2 separate regions of the Homo sapiens genome follow, and region 2 is linked to region 1. The links are contacts of gene promoters, found by promoter capture Hi-C in human tissues and cell types (Jung and others, 2019). All regions are on one chromosome and are shown on one strand. Each heading gives the region's core, a stretch centred on a gene start or on the middle of the fragment in contact. The rest is flanking DNA. Distances are from core to core; before and after follow the strand shown.

What was found. Contacts are between HindIII fragments. The study calls those that stand out against the background at their distance.
Region 2: a contact is called between a fragment that was not itself captured here and the fragment with the promoter of UGT1A9 in region 1, in 1 of the 25 tissues and cell types used here (liver).

What each region holds. Positions count from the first base shown.
Region 1 is chr2:233,669,467-233,675,071 of GRCh38, reverse strand. UGT1A9 (UDP glucuronosyltransferase family 1 member A9) reads right to left here and starts at 3,174. Exons shown (of 5, transcript NM_021027.3): 1 at 2,283-3,174. The coding sequence starts at 3,137. All of the region lies in intron 1 of UGT1A8 (UDP glucuronosyltransferase family 1 member A8), which reads right to left. The region is part of intron 1 of UGT1A10 (UDP glucuronosyltransferase family 1 member A10); the gene reads right to left. It also overlaps UGT1A. The HindIII fragment of the contact is 24,288 bases long and covers 1-5,605 here.
Region 2 is chr2:233,718,644-233,724,248 of GRCh38, reverse strand. The region is part of intron 1 of UGT1A8 (UDP glucuronosyltransferase family 1 member A8); the gene reads right to left. The region is part of intron 1 of UGT1A10 (UDP glucuronosyltransferase family 1 member A10); the gene reads right to left. The region is part of intron 1 of UGT1A9 (UDP glucuronosyltransferase family 1 member A9); the gene reads right to left. All of the region lies in intron 1 of UGT1A7 (UDP glucuronosyltransferase family 1 member A7), which reads right to left. It also overlaps UGT1A6, UGT1A5, UGT1A4, UGT1A and the pseudogene RPL17P11. The HindIII fragment of the contact is 5,054 bases long and covers 1-5,053 here.

The DNA.
Region 1 (5,605 bases), core at 1,925-4,424:
CACACAAACACACCTGCACATACACAAACACATACATGTGCAAACACATACTCCATCATCAAGTAATGCTTCCTTCTCATCAGACAGATAAGACACAGACTCTGAATCCTGTTTCCCAGCAAGATGTAACCAACTGCATGCTTTTCCCAGACACATCCTGGCATCTGAAACAAGGAAGGAGCAATATGAAGTGTCCATCCTTCTGTCAATGACAATTTACTTCTGTGGTTGGGCCATATCCAAGGCTCTTTGCCGGAAAGCCTTCTTTGAGTTCTGAATTCCTCTGTGAGAACTCCGCTGGCTTTACACGTATAGTCATAAATACATACATTAATATATGTAATCTTCCACAAGTATAAAAACTTTCATACATCCATATTCTTTAATAGACACATAAACACATTTATTTCATATCTCATAAAAGATATTTATAATCAAAATAAATGAAACCATATATAGTTTGATGTTTCATATTTTATAGATAACCCTCTATCATAGGTGATATAAAATCATATATAGGTTTTTATATCTCTAAAGGCCTCTGGGTGACGCTGTGAGGCACAATAAATTCAGTGTGGGTTCAGGAAGTGGCAGGGCCTTACCCTCAGCCAAAGGTTGTGGGGTGCAGGCAACACATAAGTGGTGCCTGTTACTACAATTAATGGAGGATACTATAATTTATGGAGGGTAAAGGGGAGAAAAGTGCTTAGACAAGTCTAACCTCTTAGATTTCTGCCATTTGCATCTCCTAGCCTAGTCTTGTGAAGATCCGAAAGTCATGCCTAATTTTGAAAGGCCTACAACTGTAGTCCTCCTGCTTTTTAGAAAGAGCATTATTTCACTTTCCCATGAGTTGGCTGAACAGTCACTCTTTCACCAAACATCTGCCAATATGTGAGAGAATATGACTGTGTTACCAAGTCTACTGAACCTTGTAAGGAGCCAGAACAATAGATAAATTGTATACTCCATCCCTCCAAAATAATATACTGAGATTAGACATTAGGTGTTTAATCTGGATTCAGCCAACTACACATTTGCTAAGAATGTTATTCTGGTATTTGTCATGGACTTTTCAATCACAAGTGATTGAATCCCTATTTAAAATTTAAACTGGCTACTCTCACAATATTACTCAATAGTGCTTTGGAAGTATAAGCTCCAGCAAAGCAAAATAAGTGGTATAAATATCAGAGAAGGGAATTCTTTGCAGTTGACATTGTATATTGTACATCTACTGTATACTACAAAATAATAAGATAAGTTAGTAATGTGGCTGGATACAAGATACATATGCAAAAAACAAAACCTTAATTACCCATAGTCAGTTACATGTAGAAATGGAAAAATTGTCCTGTACCCAATAGTTTCAAAAATAATGAAATGCTGAGGAATAAATGTTAATAAGAAACAGAAAATGCTTATATAGTGAAAAATTTTATTTATGTATATAAAACAAGATCTGAATAAATAGTGAGACATACATATTCCTGAACAGGAAGACACAATAGCAAAAAAATGCCAATCCTTCTCAATTCATGGAAATCCTGTAACCCTACATGTAGGGCTCTAGTCAACTAAGATAAAAGCAAGAATATGGAAATATATTCATGTAAGGAAAGTATTAAAGAGTGTTTACACGGCCCTATTCATAAAGACAAAAAATGCAAAATGCCTAAATCTATATCAATATTAATTGGTTAAAAACTACATTGCATCCAAAGTAAAGTATTTTATGCAATTATTAATAGAACTTGTCAAATCTGTCTGTATTGGTCTATAAAGGTATTTATAATTTATTGGCAAGTGAAAAATGCAAAGAAAAGAAGAATATGTCCAGCCCAATACTAGATTTTATTTTAACAAAATAGGTGTGAGAATTTACATTAGATATTGTATATACCTAAAGTACTTTTTTAAAAACATTAAAAGAATGTTCACAAAACTAAGACCATTTCCTCTGGGGCGGGCATATAGAATTAACAAAAAAGGGAAGTTTCATTTCTTACTGTGGTTTTTGGTACTTTTCTAAACATGGTACTTAAAAATGTAGGCTGAATATGTTCCACAATTTTATAAGTTATAAATACATATCTTCAAGAAGGGCAGTTTTATAAAATTTGCTACTGACGAGTACACGCATTGGCACAAAATAATTTGTTAAACTGGAAAGAAATTTGAAATGAAACAAATGAAAATGTCAAATCACAGTTCAGTAAAGAATCCTTTTTTAATTTCCAAAGGTGAAGTATTCTTAAGGTGCTAAAGGAGAGATAACTTACCATAGGCAACGGCTTTCCCTGATGGCAGTTGATACCACCAATGAAGATCATGTTGGGCATCACGGGTTTGGGATAGTCCAAAACAAAGTCCGTTCGCAACAACCAAATTGATGTGTGGCTGTAGAGATCATACTCCGTAACAGGTGTTTGGAGAATTTCAGAGGCTATTTCTAGGGCATTTTTGAAAAAACGGTGGCATAATAAATGTTCCTCCAAGTGCATGATGTGGTTCCGTACTCTCTCCTTGAAAGTCATGGCATCTGAGAACCCTAAGAGAATTCTGGGGACATAGGAAAGAGGAGCAGGGCACTGTGCACCTTCTTCAAGATAGTGGCAAAGTATTCCCCTGGCGAAGACCACGGAGGGGAGGGAGAAATATTTGGCAACAATTAAGCCACAGTTATCAAAAGGATCGAGAAACACTGCATCAAAAGAACTCTCCTTTAAGTATTCTACTAATTTTTTGTCTTTAAACAAACTCCTGCAATTTGAAAAAAATAAGTCAAAAATGTCATTGTATGAACCCATTAATAGAGAATATATACTTCGTACTTGTGCTTTCCATTGAGCATGGGCAAAAGCCTTGAACTCCCGGTCCAGATCCTCCAGGGTATATGAAGTTGAATAAGTCTTCACTGTGCAATTCAGTGATCTTCCCAGTTGCCAACTCACCTCTGGCATGACTACAACCACCTCATGCCCCCTGAGAATGAGTTTCTCCACCACCGACCTCATGGTGAACCAGTGGCTCCCATCCATGGGCACTACCAGTAGCTTCCCTGCCTCGGCAAAGCCACAGGTCAGCAGCAGACACACACATAGAGGAAGGGGGCTGGTCCACCCTGTGCAAGCCATCAGAGAACTGCAGCTGAGAGCAAGCAGCTGGGAATCTAAGCTCCTATGATACAGTAGGTGGGAGAAATACCAGCACAAAACCTGACCCCAATAGAGGGCGTGTTTTTATCCTTTCATAAAAAAAAAATCAGTCACTGACAATGATTTACCCAAAAGAACAAGAATATATGAGTAGCTTTTGCTGAGATATCTATTTGTATGTTTTCCAGACAACAGTAGCTTATGGTCTTTGCCTTGGGGGCAGAACATGCCCTGTGCTGCAATGTTAAGTTTAGAAGCAGAATTATTAACCAATGCTTTTGGACCTTGAAGGTTCAGAAAGATAAAGTAAAAGTAAATTTGATTAAAGCTAATTTTTTTTGGAATTTGTCCCAGAGCAAAATTTAGATTTTACCTTTAGGCAACCAAATACTCTCTGTCCAGAGAAGATGGCAACTCATGCTCTAAGCAAAGAAAACAAGGCCCTTAGCACTGACCTCCTAACCTCCTAAATTGGGGCTCGCCTGTGTCTCTGCAATGCATACATATTGCTGCTTCTCTTCTTCCATTTCCAAACCCTGAGAAGCCTCTAAAATGCTGAAATGAGACTGACAACCCTGCTTCCATGGACCATACCAGGGACTTGATGGAAAGTAACCGTCTCCTATTTTAAATGGCTTTCCTAAGATACATCGCACGCAGTGGGAAGTTGCCCGCCCAATCCTTGCGAGAGCACTCTGCTGAGCTGCCTCTCAGTGACCGCTCAACTTGCACATTCTAAACACGCCATCACTCCAGTGCCCTCCTTCAGGAAAATATGTACTTGTCTCTCTCAGTCTGCTGAGCACTCCTTGAGGTCAGAGGTGATGTCAACTTTGTGTTTTCACCCTCCTTTCACAGTACCCATGCTATGCCTTTGACATAGTTTGTATGTTTGTATGTTTGGGTTTACAAATAGGACTGCCCCCATCCATAAGCCTGCTAGCCTCCAAGCCTTAAAGGGAAAAGATCAATACCCACTGCCAGTTTTTTTGTTGTACAAGAAGGCCTCGGCAAGAACACTTTTTCTGGATTGGTTCTATCATTACTTTGTCCCTGAAGTCAGGTAATATCTTGCCAGTAAGAGACGGTCTTTCAAAGTTCTTTTGATTTTTGGACAATGCCCCTAGCCACCCAGAACCCATGAGTTCAACACTGAAGGTGTCAAAGTGGTCTACTTGCCTGCAAACCCAACATCTCTAATTCAGCAACAAAAGGTGGGGGATATGGTCTTTCAAGATATGAATCTGTGAGAAATTCAAGAATGAATAGACACCACACCAGAGGAATCAACAGAAGATGACTTGATGGAGATGAGTGCTTTTGAATCAGTACCAGATACTAAAGAAGACATAGAAGAAGCCATGCCAGAAAACAAATTCCTATTAAACAGTTTGGCAAAGGCTTCCAATTATTAAGACTACTTTTGACTTATTTTACAACACAAACCCTTCCATGAATGGGCACTGAAACTAAAGCAAATGGGGAAGAAGGACTAGTACTGTAAAAAAGCATTTTCAAAGAATTGCAAAGGCAAAAAAGTCAAATAATAATTATGATGTAATTCTGTAAAGTTACACCAAGTGTACCTGTCTCTCCTCCTTCTTCCTCCACTTCTTCCCCCTCTGCCACCCCTGAAACAGCAAAACCAACCCACCTCTTCCTCCTTCTCAGCCTACTCAATGGAGGACAATCAAGAGGAAGACCTTTATCATGATCCACTTCCACTTAATGAATACTTAATTTTCTCTTCCTTAAGATTTTCTTAATAACATTTTCTTTTCTCTAGCTGACTTCATTATGATAATACAGTATATAACACATATAACATGCCAAATATGTGTTAAGCAACTGTTTCTGTTATTGGTAAGGCTTCTAGTGCACAGTAGGCTATTAATAGTTAAATTTTTAGGGAGTCAAAAATTCTATGTGTGCTGGGCGTGGTGGCTCACACCTGTAGTCCCAGCACTTTGGGAGGTCAAGGTGGGCGTATCACGGGAGGCCAGGAGTTGGAGACCAGCCTGGCCAACATGGTGAAACCCTATCTCTACTAAAAATGCAAAAAATTAGCTGCAGGTGGTGGTGCATGCCTGTAATCCCAGCTACTCTGGAGGCTGAGGCAGGAGAATCACTTGAACCCGGGAAGCGGAGGTTGCATTGAGCTGAGATCACGCCATTATACTCCAGCCCGGGCAAAACAGCACGACTCTGTCTCAAAAATAAAAAACAAAAAGAAACCCACAAAACCTTTCTATGCTAATTTTTTACTGCTCGGGGGTTGGTACCTCAATCCTCACATTCTTCAAGGGTCAAATGTACTAGCAATGAACAATTGAAAATTGGAATGAAAACAGCACCTAAATAGCATCAAAAATAAAAAATACTAACAGATAAATCTGACAAAAGATGTGAAAGATTGTACACTGAAAACAACAAAACATTGGTGAGAG
Region 2 (5,605 bases), core at 1,277-3,776, 50 kb before region 1:
GCGCCTCTGCCCGGCCGCCCCTACTGGGAAGTGAGGAGCCCCTCAGCCCGGCCAGCCACCCCGTCCGGGAGGGAGATGGGGGGGTCAGCCCCCCCACCCGGCCAGCCGCCCCGTCCGGGAGGTGAGGGGCGCCTCTGCCCGGCCGCCCCTACTGGGAAGTGAGGAGCCCCTCTGCCCGGCCACCACCCCGTCTGGGAGGTGTGCCCAACAGCTCATTGAGAACGGGCCAGGATGACAATGGCGGCTTTGTGGAATAGAAAGGCGGGAAAGGTGGGGAAAAGATTGAGAAATCGGATGGTTGCCGTGTCTGTGTAGAAAGAAGTAGACATGGGAGACTTTTCATTTTGTTCTGCACTAAGAAAAATTCCTCTGCCTTGGGATCCTGTTGATCTGTGACCTTACCCCCAACCCTGTGCTCTCTGAAACATGTGCTGTGTCCACTCAGGGTTAAATGGATTAAGGGCGGTGCAAGATGTGCTTTGTTAAACAGATGCTTGAAGGCAGCATGCTCGTTAAGAGTCATCACCAATCCCTAATCTCAAGTAATCAGGGACACAAACACTGCGGAAGGCCGCAGGGTCCTCTGCCTGGGAAAACCAGAGACCTTTGTTCACTTGTTTATCTGCTGACCTTCCCTCCACTATTGTCCCATGACCCTGCCAAATCCCCCTCTGTGAGAAACACCCAAGAATTATCAATAAAAAAATAAATTAAAAAAAAAAAAAAAAAAAAGATTGTTGACCAGGTGCAGTGGCTCACACCTGGAATCCTAGCACTTTGGGAGGCTGAGGCGGGTGGATCACCTGAGGTCAGGAGTTCGAGACCAGCCTGACCAGTATGGTGAAACCCCATCTCTACTAAAAGTACAAAAATTAGCCAGGTGTGGTGACGTGTGCCTGTAGTCCTAGCTACTTGTGAGGCTGAGACAGGAGAATTGCTTGAACCTGGGAGGCAGAGGTTGCAGTGAGCCAACATCGTGCCATTGCACTCCAGCCTGGGTGACAGCAGGACTCCAACTCAAAAAAAAAAAAAAAAGTCAGTTTTGACTTTTTTTACCACATGGACCCTTCTATGGTTTGGGCACTGAAACTAAAGCAAATGGTGGAAGAAGAATTGGTACTGTACAGAAACATTTTCAGAGAAATGAGAAAGGAAAAAAGTCAAACAAAAATGATGATATATTTCCATAAAGTTACACCGAGTGTGCCTGCCTCTCCCGCTGGCCCTTCCACCTTCTCATCCTCTTCTGCCTCTGCCACGCTGAGACAGCAGGACCAATCCCTCCCCTTCCTCCTCCTCCTCAGCCCACTCAGCATGGAGACAATGAGGATGAAGACCTTTATGATGATCCACTTCCACTTAATGAGCAATAAATTTATTTTTTCCTTCAAAAAAAAAAAAAAGAAACATTCTTATTATAATACAAAATAACTTGAAAAAATAAGAGGGAGATGACTACAAAATTATTAACAATATCAGAATTAGGTAACAGCCTTATAGACAGTCACTGCATCAAAGGAGAAATTTAAAAACTGATATTTAAATTATCTAAAAGCAATGAAAAGAACAGCAATTTTTACCAAAACCTAAGTAAAAGAAATCTTTTACTCGAGCCCTCAATGCTTCATTAAGAAAAATCAAATGTAAAGAAGTGTAATAGTCCTCTAACGAAGTTGCAAAAGCAGCTACAAATCAACCAAAAGAAACTAGGATGAAATCATTAAGGCAAAAATAAGCTGCAATTAACGAAACGGAAAATGAAACAGTGAAAAGAATATACAAATTCCACAGTTATTTCTTTGAGAAGACCAATCAAATAATTCAACCTATCCATAAACTTTAAATCAAGGAGAAAGAGAGGGAGAAGAAACGTAAGATTTCAACTTTAGTCTTGTATATTTGTAGAAAAATTTCAAATCTAAGGGTCAACCAAACCAAGTAAGTAAGGGTGACAAAATAACAAAGGAAATCAATGTAATAAAAATGATAATGGCGTGTCTGTCACAGATAATACATGATAAAGATTTTGGTGTAAATGATCTTTCATGCACTCAGTAAATTGGCACGAACATGGCAAAGGTCTCCAGGTGACACATCTTGTCCTGCAGGAGTCTTAAACTCTACTAATGATGATGATAGCTCTTCCTCTAAGAGGCCTAAGGTGATCTGTGAAAATTCTTCTTTATTCACTTGACCCAGAAACACCACAAAATCATGCAATTCAAGAGGTTTCAGTTTTCCTGTTCACTTAAAGGACATTCGTGAAACTACCCAGGCCATCAATGTATGCATATACAAAGAGCCACCAAGTGTCTGAAGGATGTCACTTTATGGAAGCAGTGTGCACCATTTCGATATTGCAATGGAGGGGCTGGCAAGTGTGCCCAGGGCCGAGCAGTGGGGCTGGACACAAGGTCGGTGGCCCAAATAGGGTGCTGGATTTTTGCTGCATGTGCTTTAAAATGCAGAGAATAATGCTAAATATAACAATTTAGATGTAGATTCTCTCATCATTAAGCTTATCCAAGTAAACAAAGCATCCAAGATGAGCCATGCGTCTTGCAGAGCTCATTATTGGATTAACCCTTACATGACCCCCCACTGCCACATTCAAGATGATCTTTACTGATAAGGAACAAATTGTTCCTAAACCTGAGGATGAGGTTGCACAGAAGAAAAAGATATCCCAGAAGAAACTGAAGAAAAAATTTACCTATGGCTCTGGAAGAAATTCAGCATAAAATAAATGCAATTAAACTAAAATAATAAGAATGATAACAGATAATATTTATTGGGTGCTCACTATAACAACATTAAAACCACAATGCTTAGGGTACCTGTCCTAGGTCACATAGCTAGAAAAATGAGAGTGAAGATTTGAGCCAGTGCAGTTCAGTCTAAAGAATATATTCATAGTGAAAAACCACAAGAAAAGAGCCACAATCACTATTCAAATGCCTTCCTAATTTTCCACATTTTTACAAAGCTAAAGAACATATATATTTTTTACAATTCAGTAACTACATTGCATAAGGGGAAAAGAAAACCAGTAGAACAAATATCTTGTGGTTTGATCAAAAACAAAAATAAAGTTTAGTGTCCTTTGCAATAATACCTACACTAATAAAAAGAAGTACAGAAATAAGAATACAAAGGACCTAAACTCATGGAAGTTCATATAAATTCAGTGAATATGACAAAAAAGGGCTCAATTCTCTCACAAGAAAGATGGCTCCCTCACTGGGCTTGGTGGCTCTTGCCTGTAATCCCAGCACTTTGGGAGGCCGAGGCGGGCAGATCACATGAGGTCAGGAGTTCAAGACCAGCCTGGCTAACATTGCGAAACCTCATCTCTACTAAAAAAAAAAAAAAAAAAATTGCCAGGAGCAGTGGCACATGCCTGCAGTCCCAGTTACTCAGGAGACTGAGGTGGGAGAATTTCTTAAACCCGGGAGGTGAAGGTTGCAGTGAGCGGAGATCCGGCCACTGCCCTCCAGCCTGGGCGACAGAACGAGGCTCAGTCTCAAGAAAAAAAAAAAAAAAAGGATGGCTCCCTTAATGGATTTAGAAACCAAATTCATTGGTGTGTGAATTTGGTTTTTCACATCCCAGAGTACTATTTCAATGAAACCCAAATATTCTGTATTAATGAAAGTCACCTCTGAAATTTTTGGAAAAAGAATAGATCCCACTATAGAAACTTGGAGTGGGATAGGGTGAGTTTGGTGATATGATCAGCTTCACCTGAGAAACACTTCCCTTCTTGGACACATGTCCATTCATCACTGGTCCCAGCTTCACTGGGCTTATAGATTCACGGTCTTATCTCCTCCCTAGTCCCTTCCACCCACTCTTGATAATTTCAGCATTCCAAGTAGAAGACCCTTTTGACATGCAACCATCACCATACCTTCCAAACTCTACGATGTCCCCACATCATACACCAGACCCCCAACTCCTGGTCAGAAAAACTTTTCTCAGGACAGATCCCTCTCTGGAAACTGAACTCCATGTTTCATTCTCTGATCACATGCATCCATCCCACCTTCACAGCCCCACTTCCACTCAACTGAGTCAACCTCTTTGACACTTCTACTTCCTGTGAGTGCCTAGGTCTCCTGTGGTCACCTCTGTATCTTTCGCAAGATGGGACCACTAAAAATTATCATGTCCACAATTCTAATTTACTGTTGCATCACCGTTCAGCTGAAAATCAGGCAAGCAAAAACCCCAGGATGGATCAGTTCTGAATGTAGTGTCCCTGATCCTGCCGAGCTGAAGGACATGCACAACCATGAAGATGGTGCCTTTACAAACACTGTCCGTGAGTCACAGCAGTCCTTGTCCATCCTCTGACAGACCCTCATCCGTGCCTCTTCTTCCTCTCAGTGACCACTGAAAACTTGAAATACACTAGGCCCCTCAACAGTTTATCTGTTATAAAGAAGCCAAAATAAAATCTTTGGAAAGATAAGTAGATATGGAAGCACTTGTAAGTAAATACATTTTTTAAAAAGTGTTTTGCCTGGAACATTGATTGGATGAAGGCACCAATACAGACCTGAGATAGTGGCTTCCCGTTGGCACAGTTGATGCCCCCAATGAAGACCATGTTGGGCATGATCGGCCTGGGGTAGTCCATCACAAAGTCCCCTCGGAACAGCCACACGGATGCATAGCTGACAAGATCCACCACTGACACCTCTCTCTGAAAAAGCTCAGAGGCAAGACTTGCATAAGGGGCAGAAAAAGTATGGCAAATGTAGGACAGGGCCAGAGGGTAGAGCATGTTCTTGACCCTTTGCAGGAATGTCATGTGGTCTGAATTGGTCGTTAGTAACTTAGGAATATAGGAGGAAGGATTTGGACACTGTGTGCCCTTAAAGTCTAAGTCACATGGAATGTACCTCCAAAAAAACACAGCAGGAATCGACAGGTACTTAGCCAGCACCGCCCCACAGAGGTTAACGGGGTCTGTTAAAACCACATCAAAGGAAGTAGCATTCAGGTGCCTGATCAGGGCCTCATTATGCAGTAGCTCCACACAACACCTATGAAGGGCCAAAGATACATTGTTCATAATTGCCATACTTCTAGAATATCTCTTCAGAAGATGTTCTGTTTCAAAGAACCCTTGAGTGTAGCCCAGCGTAACGCGATCAAATTCCTTCTGGGTCCATGGAACAGCATAGGCTGTCAGGGTGAAAAATTTCTCTTCTTTGATGTGCATATTCACCTCTGGGGTGAGGACCACCGCCTGGTGGCCTCTGGCATGGAGCTCCCGCAAGGCCTCCCGCATGCTGAGCCAGGGGCTGCCATCAGTGGGCACCACCAACACCTTTCCACTCTCAGCCCAGGGCTGGACACTGAGGAGGAGCAGCAGTCCTGTGGCCAGCCGCGGCAGGGGAACCTGGAGTCCTCTGGCCATCTCAGCAGAAGCCACCGACAGCTGACTGTCCACCCCACGCTGTGCCTGCTACATTTGTTTCCTTCGCCTTAATTACCTTGTCATTGAGCCACCTAGCAAATCAGCATGTAATTGGAAGACAAAGTGCCCTCCTCCAGTTACTTATTACCCATTAATCTATAACTGCCTTTCGTTATG